Linked DNA regions of Homo sapiens: region 2 is linked to region 1. The links are contacts of gene promoters, found by promoter capture Hi-C in human tissues and cell types (Jung and others, 2019). All regions are on one chromosome and are shown on one strand. Each heading gives the region's core, a stretch centred on a gene start or on the middle of the fragment in contact. The rest is flanking DNA. Distances are from core to core; before and after follow the strand shown. Region 1 holds the start of RAMP2 (receptor activity modifying protein 2). Region 2 overlaps ATP6V0A1 (ATPase H+ transporting V0 subunit a1).

Region 1 (6,220 bases), core at 2,345-4,844:
ATTTTTAGGGAACATATGTGTGCCTAGAAAAACAGATGCACCCTGAGAGATGTGTGTCTCAGAGAATGAATAGGCATGTTCCAGGAATCATACAAGCATATATGGAAAAGGCAGGATACCCCAAGAAATGGACATGCATGTACTCAAGAAGGCAGATATTTCAACAAGAAGGAAAGTCCCTAAAGAGGCTCGGGGTGCCACAAGGAGTAAACAGATGTATCCATGGAGAATAAAGTTGTTTTGGAGATATTTTTGGAGACCTGGCAGTTGTGTCTGATGGAGAGTTGAAGGTGTAGGTTACCTGGTAAGAAATGGGCCTCACTATCCAGGGAACATATAGGTGTGTTCATATACAGCAATGGTGACTTGTAGAGAGGGGCTGGGTATGATCCTAGAAAGTAGGAAGGTATCTGAAGAGAGTGTTGTTTGTCTCAGGAAGCTGATAGCGGGGTCCAGCTAAGAACTAGTGGTTGTGCAGGCACAGCAGGCTCATGCTTGTAATCCCAGCACTTTGGGAGACTGACTGGGGAGGAGCACTTGAGGCCAGGAGTTCAAGACTAGCCTGGGCAACACGGTGAGACCCCATCTGTATAAAAAAACTTAAAAAAAAAATTAGGCCGGGTGTGGTGGCTCGTGCCTGTAATCCCAGCACTTTGGGAGGCCGAGGTGGGTGGATCATGAGGTCAGGAGATCGAGATCATCCTGGATAACACAGTGAAACCCTGTCTCTACCAAAAATACAAAAAATTAGCCGGGCGTGGTGGCGAGCACCTGTAGTCCCAACTACTCTGGAGGCTGAGGCAGGAGAATGGCATGAACCAGGAGGCAGAGTTTGCAGTTAGCCGAGAGCATGCCACTGCCCTCCAGCCTGGGTGACGGAGCAAGACTCCATCTCAAAAAAAAAAAAAAAAAAAAAAAATTAGCTGGGCATGGTGGCTCACGCCTGTGGTCCCAGCTACTTGGAAGTCTGAGATGGGAGGATCCTTGAGCCCAGGAGGTCGAGGCTGCAGTGAGCCATGTTTGTGCCACTGAACTCCAGCCTGGGTGACAGAATGAGACCTTGTTTCAACAAACAAACAAACAAACAAACAAACAAGGAACTAGTGATTGCTGTAGAGATGGCAGTTTTCTGACCCCAGGGTCCAGTGCTCCTCAGCCTTGAGCTTCTTCCAGATCAGATACGTCTTCTGGTTGCTGGCTTTAGTGGACACCAGGGGGCAGTGTGTTGCTAGGCTGCAGGCCACACCCAGTCCAGGACAATGTAGGATGAGGGCAAGGGACATGGAGAGGGGTGGTGAACCTAGTAAAGGAAGCCCCCACTGCTTTCTCCCTCAATTGTGAGGGCCTTAGGAATGGATTCCTGTTGCTCAGTCAGGGTTCCTCTTCCCAGGCCCTGTGAGTAAACTGAAGCATGAAGAAGAGGAATAGTCAGGGCTCCTGGGCAGCCTCCTGCTCCTCTTGCAGGAGTCACAAGCAGAGATTCCTCCCTTGCCCCTTCCCCCACACCTCCCCAGTTGCAGGCCCCCAGCTGCTGTCCAGACCGGAAGGGAGTCTCTTCCTGCTTGTTTCCTGGAGCCGAGTTTGGATATAGGCAGGAAAGGCCCGCCTGGGAGGAAAGAATATAGGGGTGTGACCTTCATGGAGGCAGGGAGCAGGGGGGCAGGTGAAATGAACAGAACAATGGGCCATCCAGATTTTTCCAGTTCTACTACCCAGGGCTGAGGGCCTGTGGCAGTGGCAGGGAAGGACACAGGTTCCACTGAAATGGGGAGAAGGACATTGTACAAAAAAAAAGTTTTATTTTGAAGATTACAGAACTTGTGCCATGACCCCACCTGGCTTCCATTCCCAGCAATCCAGGGATCTGTGGTGGGGATGAGAGTGAGAAAAGGGAGTAGGAGGGGAGGAGGGAGGCCTGGTGGGGGTGGGGAAGTGGAGTAACATGGTTGTTGAGAAGCTCGTGGCCCCCTAGGCCTGGGCCTCACTGTCTTTACTCCTCCATACTACAAGAGTGATGAGGAAGGGGATGAGGCAGATGGGGGCTATGATCATGGCCAGGAGTACATCCTCTGGGGGGTCAGAGAAGGTGGGCTGCACCAGGGAGCAGTTGGCAAAGTGGATCTGGTGAGTCTCAAAGATGATCCTCTCTGCCAAGGGATTGGGGAAGCCCAGGTCAAACAACTCTGCAAAGTGCTCCAGGCAATCTCGCAGGGTGCTATAAGGCCTAGGGGCAGAAGAGGACTTGAGTGAGAGAGGGGGTGGACCCAGGGAGAAGAGTGCCCCACTCTCACTCAGGGTCTACCTGCAATGAGCAGGTCCACCCCCTGGCCTGAGCCACCCTCCATCACTGCCCCTACCTGCTAATCATGGCCCAGTCGCACCAATCCTTTTCGATAGGATCCATTTGATCCTTATAATGATTCCAGCAAAATTGGACAGCTGTCTCATAGTTCTTCACCGTCCCCCCTGTAGGTACAGATGCTACACAATGACCACACCCCTACCCCTCCCTACAAACCCTCCTGCCCAGGTGCTTGCAAGGTGAACTGCCTGTCTTCAAACGTGGGAACCCTTCAGAAAGTTTCCCTAGCAAAACATTCTGGCTGAGGACAGAGTCCCAGCTCAGGAATCCTATAATGACTTCCATGTGCTAAGCACTTTCCATCCCAGCCTGATAAGAACTTCCACGTACACCTTTTCCTGGGGTCTTCTCGCCCACTTGTGAGGTGGGCAGCTCAGAGCCGTGCAGGGGCTTTGTAGGAGGACAGGGAGAAAGACCACGAGGAACCCCAAGAAAGAACAGAGGGGAGTGTAGTGGGGCATCAGCTGGGGTTGGGCAGGCCTCGTGGGAAAGGAACCCTCCCCACTGAACTTGCTCTCGTCCTTACCCTCGGCCACCCTTCCACACCCTGGGTACCCACCTTCTGACCCTGGTGTGCCTGTGGTGGGAAGAGGCTGAGCCAGGGCCTCGTGGGGATTCAGGACAGCTGTGGGAAGAAACGGGAGAGGAGGGTAACATAGCGGGGACCCCGGCAGTGGAGCCTGCGAGGGGGGTTGGGGGACTGAGACCCTCCGAAAATAGGCTACCTTGGAAGAAAAGGAGGAATAATCTAGCCCCCACGGACGCCTCAGTGCCGGGGAGGGAGGGGCTGGCACCAGCTCCTTGTCACTCACACCCAGGCCCAAAGCCCCCTCATCTCTGGCCAGCTTCCGTCCTCCTAAGCCCTCTTCGAGGGGCCGGGGCCAGCACCCCAGCTTTCCCTGGGTGGGAAGCAGCTCATGCTGCGCCCGCCCCGAGGTGGGGTCAGGGACCGTCCGAGGGCCAGTGCTGCTAGGTACGTCGGTCCTAACCCGCACCCCAGGGCCCGTTCCGGCCTCGGCCATCCAGCCCCTCTCCCCTCTCCCCTCTCCCCTCCGGGGCCTCTCGCGCCTCCCGCCCGGGCCTCGGGGCGCCGCGCTCACCGCCCAGCAGGAGGAGGAGGCGGAGCGCTGCCGGCCGCCCGACTCGGGTCCTAGGGAGACGCGGGCCGCCGGCGCGCTCCACCCGGAGCGAGGCCATCGTGCAGCAAGGAGGCGAGGAGCGGCGGCGGCGCTGAGCCGGGCCCGGGTGTGGGGGCGCCTATATCCCCAGCCCAAGCTGCAGGAAGCCGCGCCGCTTCCTCGGAGGGGCTGGGACGGCGGCGGCCACGTGGGGGGCGGGGGCGACGCTCGGGGCCCGCGGCTGGAGGGGGAGTCGCTGCCTCACCCGCGCCTGGCGCCCGCGGCTCCCTCCGCCTCGCCGGCGTTGGCCCACCCTCTCGTAGCTCACCCCGCGAGGCTGGACAGCTCCCGGAACCCCGGAACCGGGATCTATTTCGGGGGCTCGGCTGCGTGGCGCCCAGGACTCTCCAGGGTCTCCCAGGATCGCTCCCCGAATTCGAGTCGCCCCCTCTCTCTTTCGGGTCTGGAGGGGTCGGCAAGCTGCTCTCCCAGACGTGGAGAAGAGGGAGGGGGCTGGGAGCTCCAGCGGCCTCTCGACGCCGCTGCTTCTAAGGGGCTGTCCTGGGTTGTGGGGGAAGGGGCGCCTGGAGCTGAGCCATGCAGCTCAGGGTTCCTTATCCTATCCCTAGGAATACCAGCTGATGTCAGTCCGCCAGCCAAAACCAGGGAGGAGAAGCGGGAGCCAGCCCTCTGGAGTCGGGAGAAGGTCTGGGGAGTGGGGTAGAGGGGAAAGCAAAGTCCAAATACCTTCCCTTCAGACACCTCCTGGGGCCTAGACCCCACAAACCTGTTGTGGGGAGGGCAAAATACGATGACTACGTTCCCAGGAAGAAGGTGCCACAGCTCTTCAGGACCACGGTTGGGAGAAAGAATGGAGGGGTTTTAGAACCTTCAGTGTGCGACTTCATGTGCCAGGTGAGTGTAACACCATTTTACAGACCGAGAAGCTAAAGCTCAGGGCCAACAGCCCGGGATTTGAATTCAGAAGCTCTGGGTTCTAATTCTGTCTTCTTACTCCCCAGCTATAGAGCCTTGAATGACACGTTTACCTTCAGGACTTCTCATGTGAAATAGGGACATTCCCCTCCTCACTGTATGATGGCAGCTGTGAAAGGGCACTGCACTCGCTAAATGCTAGTTTCCTTTCCTCTTTTCCTAAGTGACTTATCTAAGGTCACACTGTTAAGGAAGCAGCAAGGCTGAGTCTGGGCCTCCGGGGGTCCTGACTTCAGCCACACCACAGCTGCTTCTTGTGTCCTGGGCCAGAGGTTCATTAGTCTGAAGCAGCTGAGGAGCCCAGGAGCTGGTTTGGCCATGACGTTCAAGTCCCAGACACAGCTGTCAGCACCAAACTTTCCTAAATTACTCCCAGACACTGACCCTTGGACTCAGCTGCTGCTGTTGTCCCAGTTTACTGATTCCTGCCCACCACAAATTATCTGTCCTGATCTCTCCTGAAGTCTTCATCTCAGGATCTCAAGCTCTTGGATCATGGGCACGGATAACCTGTTGTCCTCCTCTATGGTCAAGAGGCTGCTTTTGCAAAGAATCCAGTGGGAGAGAGTCAATGGCCTGCTTGACGTGAACTCCAAAGTCCTCCTGGTAAGGATCATTTCTACAATGATGCAGAAAAGAGCCATGCAGTCTCTGAGACATTTCAGGCTGGGACCAAATCTAGTCCTTCCTGCCTGCCTAGGATTGCTCCTTTCAAGAAGGAAGCATGGGAGATTTCTGAGTGATAAGATGGGAGGAAGGAGCAAGGAGGTGCAGAAAGCAAAACAAGCCATTTTCACTGGGTTGGGGCCAGAAGCACATGAGCCCACTATGGGTTAGGACTGGGGTTGGGGTCAAGATTAAAGGGGACAAAAGCAAATGTTAGATTTAAAATAGAGCCTGGGCAACATAGTGAAACCCTGTCTCTACAAAAAAAAAACTATAAAAAAATTTTTAAAAAATTAGCCTGGCATAGTGGTGTGCACCTGTAGTCCCAGCTACTCGGGAGGCTGAGGCAGGAGGATCACTTGAGCCCCAGAGGTTGAGGCTGCAGAGAGCTGTGATTGTGCCCTATCTCAAAAAAAAAAAAAAAGGACAATATGGCATAATGATAATGGATAATCATAACGGATGAAAGAAAAAAACTGATGAGGATTCTGAAGGTAGGTTCTGCCTCTGTCTTACTGCAAGTAACTTGAGCAGGTTATTTCACATCTCTGGAGCTCAAGATTTTCATATGTAAAATGGCCTTAAGATCAAAAAAGAAAATATAGGTAACTTGGTAGGAAGTTCCTATTTTATTTTTATCTTACTTTACTTTTTAGGAACAGGGGCTCACTCTGTTGCCCACATTGGAGTGCGGTGGAAGAATCATGGCATGCTGCAGTCTTGAGCTTCTAGGCTCAAGAGATCCTCCTGGTTCAGTCTCCCAAGTAGCTAGGACAGCAGGCATATTTTTTGTAGATATGGGGGTCTTGCTTTTTTGCCGAGGCTGGTCTCGAACTCCTGGCTTCAAGCAATCTTCCTGCATCAGTCTCTTAAAGTGTTGGGATTCCAGGCATGAACCACTGCACCTGGCCCTTGGGAAGTTTTATTTTTAGCCTAGGGTTGGGGTTAAGTTTGCATCATGATGTTGAGACCTCCAAAGGAGAACTTATTGTAGTCATTCCTGAGCTCAGGTGTCCAAACTGTCTAATTGGAGAATCTGGGAATTTTCTCTCGTTTTGATTTTCCTCTTCCACTTTTC
Region 2 (5,895 bases), core at 1,111-3,610, 270 kb after region 1:
CCAACTGAAAATGAATACTCACACTCTTGATTTAATAATTAACTCTCCAAATATAGGAGAAATCTGTGTTGTACCTAAAGTGGCCAATACTTGCTACATTTTTTCTGTCTAACCTTGGAACAGGGAAGCCAAAAAAAAAGCCATTTAAAAATATCAGACATCTTAGAAGAAACATTTTGCTTAAAACAGTTCCTGCAAATGATTTGCTAGAGAAGTCCAGGTGTTTTAGGGCTGTGAGGGCACATGAAAGAATCCAGTCTCATGAACTTTTTTTTTGAGACAGAGTCTTGCTCTGTCACTCAGGCTGGAGTGCAGTGGCACAATTTAGGCTCACTATAACTTCTGTCTCTTGGGTTCAAGCAATTCTCCTGTCTAGGCCTCCTGAGTAGCTGGGATTACAGGCATGCACCACCAGGCCTGGCTAATTTTCTTGTATTTTTAGTAGAGATAGGGTTTCACCATGTTGGCCAGGCTGGTCTCGAACTCCTGACCTTAAGTGATCCTTCCACCTTGTCCCCACAAAGTGCTGGGATTACAGGCATGAACCACCACGCCCAGCCGATGAACTTTTTTTTTTTTTTTTTTTTGAGACAGAGTTTCACTCTTTTTGCCCAGGCTGGAGTGCAATAATGCAATATCGGCTCACGGCAACCTCCGTCTCCCCGGTTCAAGTGATTCTCCTGCCTCAGCCTCCCGAGTCGCTGAGATTACAGGCAAGAGCCACCATGCCTGGCTGATTTTGTATTTTTAGTAGAGACGGGGTTTCTCCATGTTGGTCAGGCTGGTCTCGAACTCCTGACCTCAGGTGATCCACCTGCCTCGGCCTCCCAAAGTGCTGGGATTACAGGCGTGAGCCACCACACCTGGCCCAGCCGATGAACTCTTAAAGGAACGCTACCTGACAGTAAACCTGCCCCTTACATTAAATGGGCATCTTTTTGTTGTTGCCCAAGCTGGAGTGCAGTGGCATGATGTCGGTTCACTGCAACCTTTGCCTCCTGGGTTCAAGTGATTCTCAGGCCTCAGCCTCCCGAGTAGCTGGGACTACAGGTGCATGCCACCAAATCCGGCTAATTTTTGTATTTTTAGTAGAGGCAGGGTTTCACCATGTTGGCCAGGCTGGTCTCAAACTCCTGACCTCATGTGATCCACATGCCTCAGCCTCCCAAAGTGCTGGGATTACAGGCGTGAGCCACCATGCCCTGCCAGAATGAGCACCTCTTCACAGGGAGTACACAAGATCTGAGGTGTCAACATGTTTATTTATTTTTTAATAGAGATGGGGTCTCACTATGTTGCCCAGGCTGATCTTGAAATCCTGGGCTTAAGCAATCCTCCTACCTCGGCCTCTAAAAGTGCTAGGATTGGCTGGGCGCAGTGGCTCACGCCACCCAGCACTTTGTAATCCCAGCACTTTGGGAGGCCAAGGCGGGTGGATCATGAGGTCAGGAGATCGAGACCATCCTGGCTAACACAGTGAAACCCTGTCTCTACTAAAAATACAAAAAAATGGCCGGGCGCAGTGGCTCACGTCTGTAATCCCAGCACTTGGGGAGGCAGAGGCAGGCAGATCACCTGAAGTCAGGAGTTAGAGATCAGCCTGGGCAACATGGTGAAACCCCGTCTCGACTAAAAATACAAAATTAGCCGGGCGTGATGGCACATGCCTATAATCCCAGCTACTCGGGAGGCTGAGGCAGGAGAATCGCTTGAACCTGGGAGGCAGAGGATGTGGTGAGCTGAGATCGTGCCATTGCACTCCAGCCTGGGCAACGAGAGTAAATCTCTGTCTCACCTAAAAAAAATAAAAAAAAAATTAGCCGGGCATGGTGGCGGGTGCCTGTAGTCCCAGCTATTCGGGAGGCTGAGGCAGAAGAATGGCGTGAACCTGGGAGGCAGAGCTTGCGGTGAGCCAAGATCACGCCACTGCACTCCAGCATGGGTGACACAGCGAGACTCCGTCTCAAAAAAAATTAAAAATAAAATTAAATTAAAAAAACAGTGCTAGGATTAACATCTTTAATTTTAATTCAGTTATTCAACAGCATTTAAAGTGAGGCATTAGAAGAAACAATGAACAAAAAGGCCAGGCATAGTGGGTCACACCTGTAATCCCAGCACTTTGGGAGGCTGAAGCAGGAGGCTTCCTTGAGCCCAGGAGTCCAAGACTAGCTTGGGCAACATAACAAGACCCCGTCTCTAAAAAAAATTAAAAATTATCAGCCTGGGCAACATAGCAAAACCCATCTCTAAAAAAATTTTAAAAATTAGCCAGGCATGGTGACACATGCCTGTAGTCCCAGCTACTCCAGAGGTTCAGGCGGGAGAATCACTTGAGCCCACGAGGTTGAGGCTGCTGTAAGCCGTGATTTCACCATTGCACTACAGCCTAGGCAACAGAATGAGACCCAGTCAAAAAAAAATCATAAAATAAAAAATTAGCCAGGTGTGGTGCTGTGCGCCTGTGGTCCTAGCTATACAGGAGACTGAGTTGGGAGGATCTCTTGAGGCCAGGAGTTTGAGGCTGCAGTGAACTACAGTCGTGCTGCTGCACTCCAGCCTGGGTGACAGAGGGAGACTCTGTCTCAAAACAAACCAAACCAACCAAACAAACAAAAAAAACTCTAGAGGAAAAAGATAACAAGCTTTTTTTTACCTGGATTTATCTCTCGGTAAGTTCCAATTCCATAAGCATCTACTATGTTCTGAAAGCCATAGGTAAACTTGTTGGTTTTGTTATAGGTTGGGGGAGTCTGGTTTGTCTGCATCCTGTTCAAAATGGAAGGTACAGTGGAACCACTGTGTTCCTGAAAAACATTAGCACATTTATCAAACTTAGGTTATCCTCCTAATTGTGGTAGTGGTTACACAGGTGTACATTTCTTGAAACTCATCAAATGGTACACATAAAATGTATGTATTTTCTTTCATGTAAATTATATCTCAATAAAACTAATAAACCTAAAAATAAAACTAGATTATCTTTCCCAGCTTTTGGGAAAACTGGGAAAAGGTATAACATTTATAATGGAAGATTTCTATTAGATCCTCTGAAATACATCCTTAATGTGAAAAAAATTTAACTTTAAAATATGTCACCAAAGAAAATGTGGAACTGCCTCCATATCTGCCTTTTTATGAAAGTTGTTCTCCCCCTTTCATGGAGAAAGCAAAGTATGTTCTCTGGCTCTCCTTCTTCACTACCTTCTCTTAACTTCCTGATCCCTTGCAGTCTGGCTGAGCATGCTTAGGCAAAGTGACTGGCTCCTGACCAAAGAGCTTCTCTCCCCCATGCACGCCCCTGACATTGGAGATCTTTGGTGAAAATCCTTCTTCCTTAGGAGTTCTCCTCCTGCTCGCTGACCATTGCTTTTCTATCTTTGCTGGTTATTTCTGCTCTGCCTATCTCATAGCATTGCAAGACCCCAACCTTTTTTTTCTCTCTATGACCTCCCTCTTGGAGGTCTCATTCCCTTCCATTCTCATGACTCCCATTTCCTTAGCTTTGTTCCCTTGTCTGCTTGACATTTCCACATAGACCTCAATGTGCCCGGAACTGAACTTACCATCTCTCCCCAATCAATAAGCTTCTCTGGCTGAACATTTACTTCCCTCATTGGAACCCTAATTCTCCTGGCCAGTCAGCTTTGATGCCTCAAAAAGATGTTTAAATCTTTCTCCTTGTATTTCTCCTGCACCTTGCTAGGAACCAGGTAGCCCTATTGATTTTTCCTGCAGAACATCTCACAATTCATCATTTTTTTTCCCATTGTCAAGTCCTACCTGGGGATCCTTATCATTTACTACTCTATGTCTACAATAACCTCCTAACTGAACCCCTACCTACAGAATCTCTTCACTCCTCAATCCAACCTAGATACTATCAGCAGATTACTCTTTTAAAACTGCTTTGAGCCAGGAGAAGTGGCTCATGCCTGTAATCCCTGCACTTTGGGAGGCTGAGGCGGGTGGATCACCTGAGGTCAGGAGTTCGACACCAGCTTGGTCAACGTGATGAAACCCCGTCTCCACTAAAAATACAAAAAATTAGCTGGGTGTGGTGGCGCACACCTGTAATCCCAGCTACTCAGGAGGCTGAGGCAGGAGAATCACTTGAAGCAGGGAGGTGGAGGGTGGAGGTTGCAGTGAGCCGAGATCATGCCACTGCACTCCAGCCTGGGCAACAAGAGCAAAACTCCATCTCAAAAAAAAAAAAACCAAAAAACAAAAAAACTGCTTTGATCCACCAGGCGTGGTGACCCACTTTTTTTTTTTTTTTGAGACAGAGTCTCACTCTGCTGTCCAGGCTGGAGTGCAGTGGCATGATCTCAGCTCACTGCAACCTCTGCCTCCTGGGTTCAAGTGGTTCTCCTGCCTCAGCCTCCTGAGTAGCTGGGATCACAGGCACCCACCACCATACCTGGCTAACTTTTTTGTATTTTTAGTAGAGACGGGGTTTTGTCATGTTGGCCAGGCTGGTCTCAAACTCCTGACCTCAAGTGATGACCCGCCTCAACCTCCCAAAGTGCTGGATTACAAGAGTGAGTCACCACGCCTGGCCCCAACACTTTGGAAGGCCAAGGAAGGCAGATCACTCGAGCCCAGGAATTTGAGATCAGCCTGGGCAACATGGCAAAACCCTGTCTCTACAAAAAATTAGCCACGCATGATGGTGGGCACCTGTAGTCCCAGCTACCGGGAGTCTGAAGTGGGAGGATTGCTTAAGCCCAGGAGTTGGAAGCTGAAGTGAGCTGAGATGGCACCACTGCACTCCAGCCTGGGTAACAGAGCAAGATCTTGTCTCAAACACAAAATTAAAAATGTAAAAAACCACCCAAACTGCTTTGATCATGTTCCTTTACCCCTAAAGAACTTCCAATGTCTCTCAACTTCCTCTGGAATAAAATTTAAATCTTCTAAGCTATTATTTAAGAACCTTTCACAATTAAGTTCCAAACTACCTGATGCAGACAGGTACTTCTCTTCAGCTAACCCACTGTAAATCCTGTTCTTGTCCAAACATACATGGTCTAACCATACTTCCTGCCTTTGTTTTCTTCTCTTCATTCAGCAGTCTTACCAACAACTTATCATTCTTCAAAGACCTGATCAAATGCCACCTGCTTAAAGCTTTTTCCAACTCCATAGTTGGAACTCTCCTAATAAACTGTAAGATACTCGAGGGCATGTTTTATACATCTCTGTACTCCTCCAGGCACTTACAGCACTTCTGTGGACAGAGTAGTTGTTCTAATTAACTACTAAACAGAAACAGTCATATACAGAGAGGGCATCAGGAAACTGATGCCCTGGCCATGAACAACCCTGAAGAATCATGGGCATATGACCAAATTATTTCAGCTCTCTGAACTGCAGTCTCCACATATGCAAAATAAAGATATGCTATGCTACGCTATGATATACATATTATATGCCAGGCTATGTATGAAATGTGCTGTCAAGTTAAAAGACAAATAAATATATTGAAGAACTCTGAAGGTGAAATGCCATAAAAATGACATTAATGTTACTATTTATTTATTTTTTATTATTATTTTTTTTTTTTGAGACAGAGTCTCGCTCTGTTGCCCAGGCTGGAATGCAGTGGCGCAATCTCAGCTCACTGCAAGCTCCGCCTCCCAGGTTCACTTGATTCTTCTGCCTCAGTCTCCAGAGTAGCTGGGACTACAGGCGCCTGCCAACACGCCCGGCTAATTTTTTGTATTTTTTAGTAGAGACGGGGTTTCACCGTGTTAGCCAGGATGGTCTCGATCTCTTGACCTCATGATCTGCCCGCCTCGGCCTCCCAAAGTTCTGGGATTACAGGCATGAGCCACCGCGCCCGGCCAAAAATGACATTAATGTTACTATTGATGGGAACCTCTCTTCCGGGCC

Evidence for each region. The method cuts DNA at HindIII sites, captures the fragments that hold promoters and counts their contacts. A contact is called where the count stands out against the background at its distance.
Region 2: a fragment that was not itself captured here is called in contact with the fragment with the promoter of RAMP2 in region 1 in 2 of the 25 tissues and cell types used here (heart left ventricle and hippocampus).

The regions. Positions count from the first base shown.
Region 1 is chr17:42,758,601-42,764,820 of GRCh38, reverse strand. It overlaps RAMP2 (receptor activity modifying protein 2), which reads right to left and starts at 3,594. Exons shown (of 4, transcript NM_005854.3): 1 at 3,463-3,594; 2 at 2,922-2,987; 3 at 2,358-2,466; 4 at 1,780-2,224. The coding sequence starts at 3,559. The coding sequence ends at 1,969. It overlaps RAMP2-AS1 (RAMP2 antisense RNA 1), which reads left to right and starts at 3,564. Exons shown (of 6, transcript NR_024462.1): 1 at 3,564-3,941; 2 at 4,110-4,186; 3 at 4,308-4,395; 4 at 4,941-5,082. RefSeq lists a silencer at 3,391-3,480. The HindIII fragment of the contact is 24,962 bases long and covers 1-6,220 here.
Region 2 is chr17:42,487,399-42,493,293 of GRCh38, reverse strand. It overlaps ATP6V0A1 (ATPase H+ transporting V0 subunit a1), which reads right to left. Exons shown (of 22, transcript NM_001130021.3): 11 at 2,657-2,807. Among named protein-coding and RNA genes, the nearest start is that of MIR548AT, 4.4 kb to the left of the region's middle. The HindIII fragment of the contact is 3,999 bases long and covers 361-4,359 here.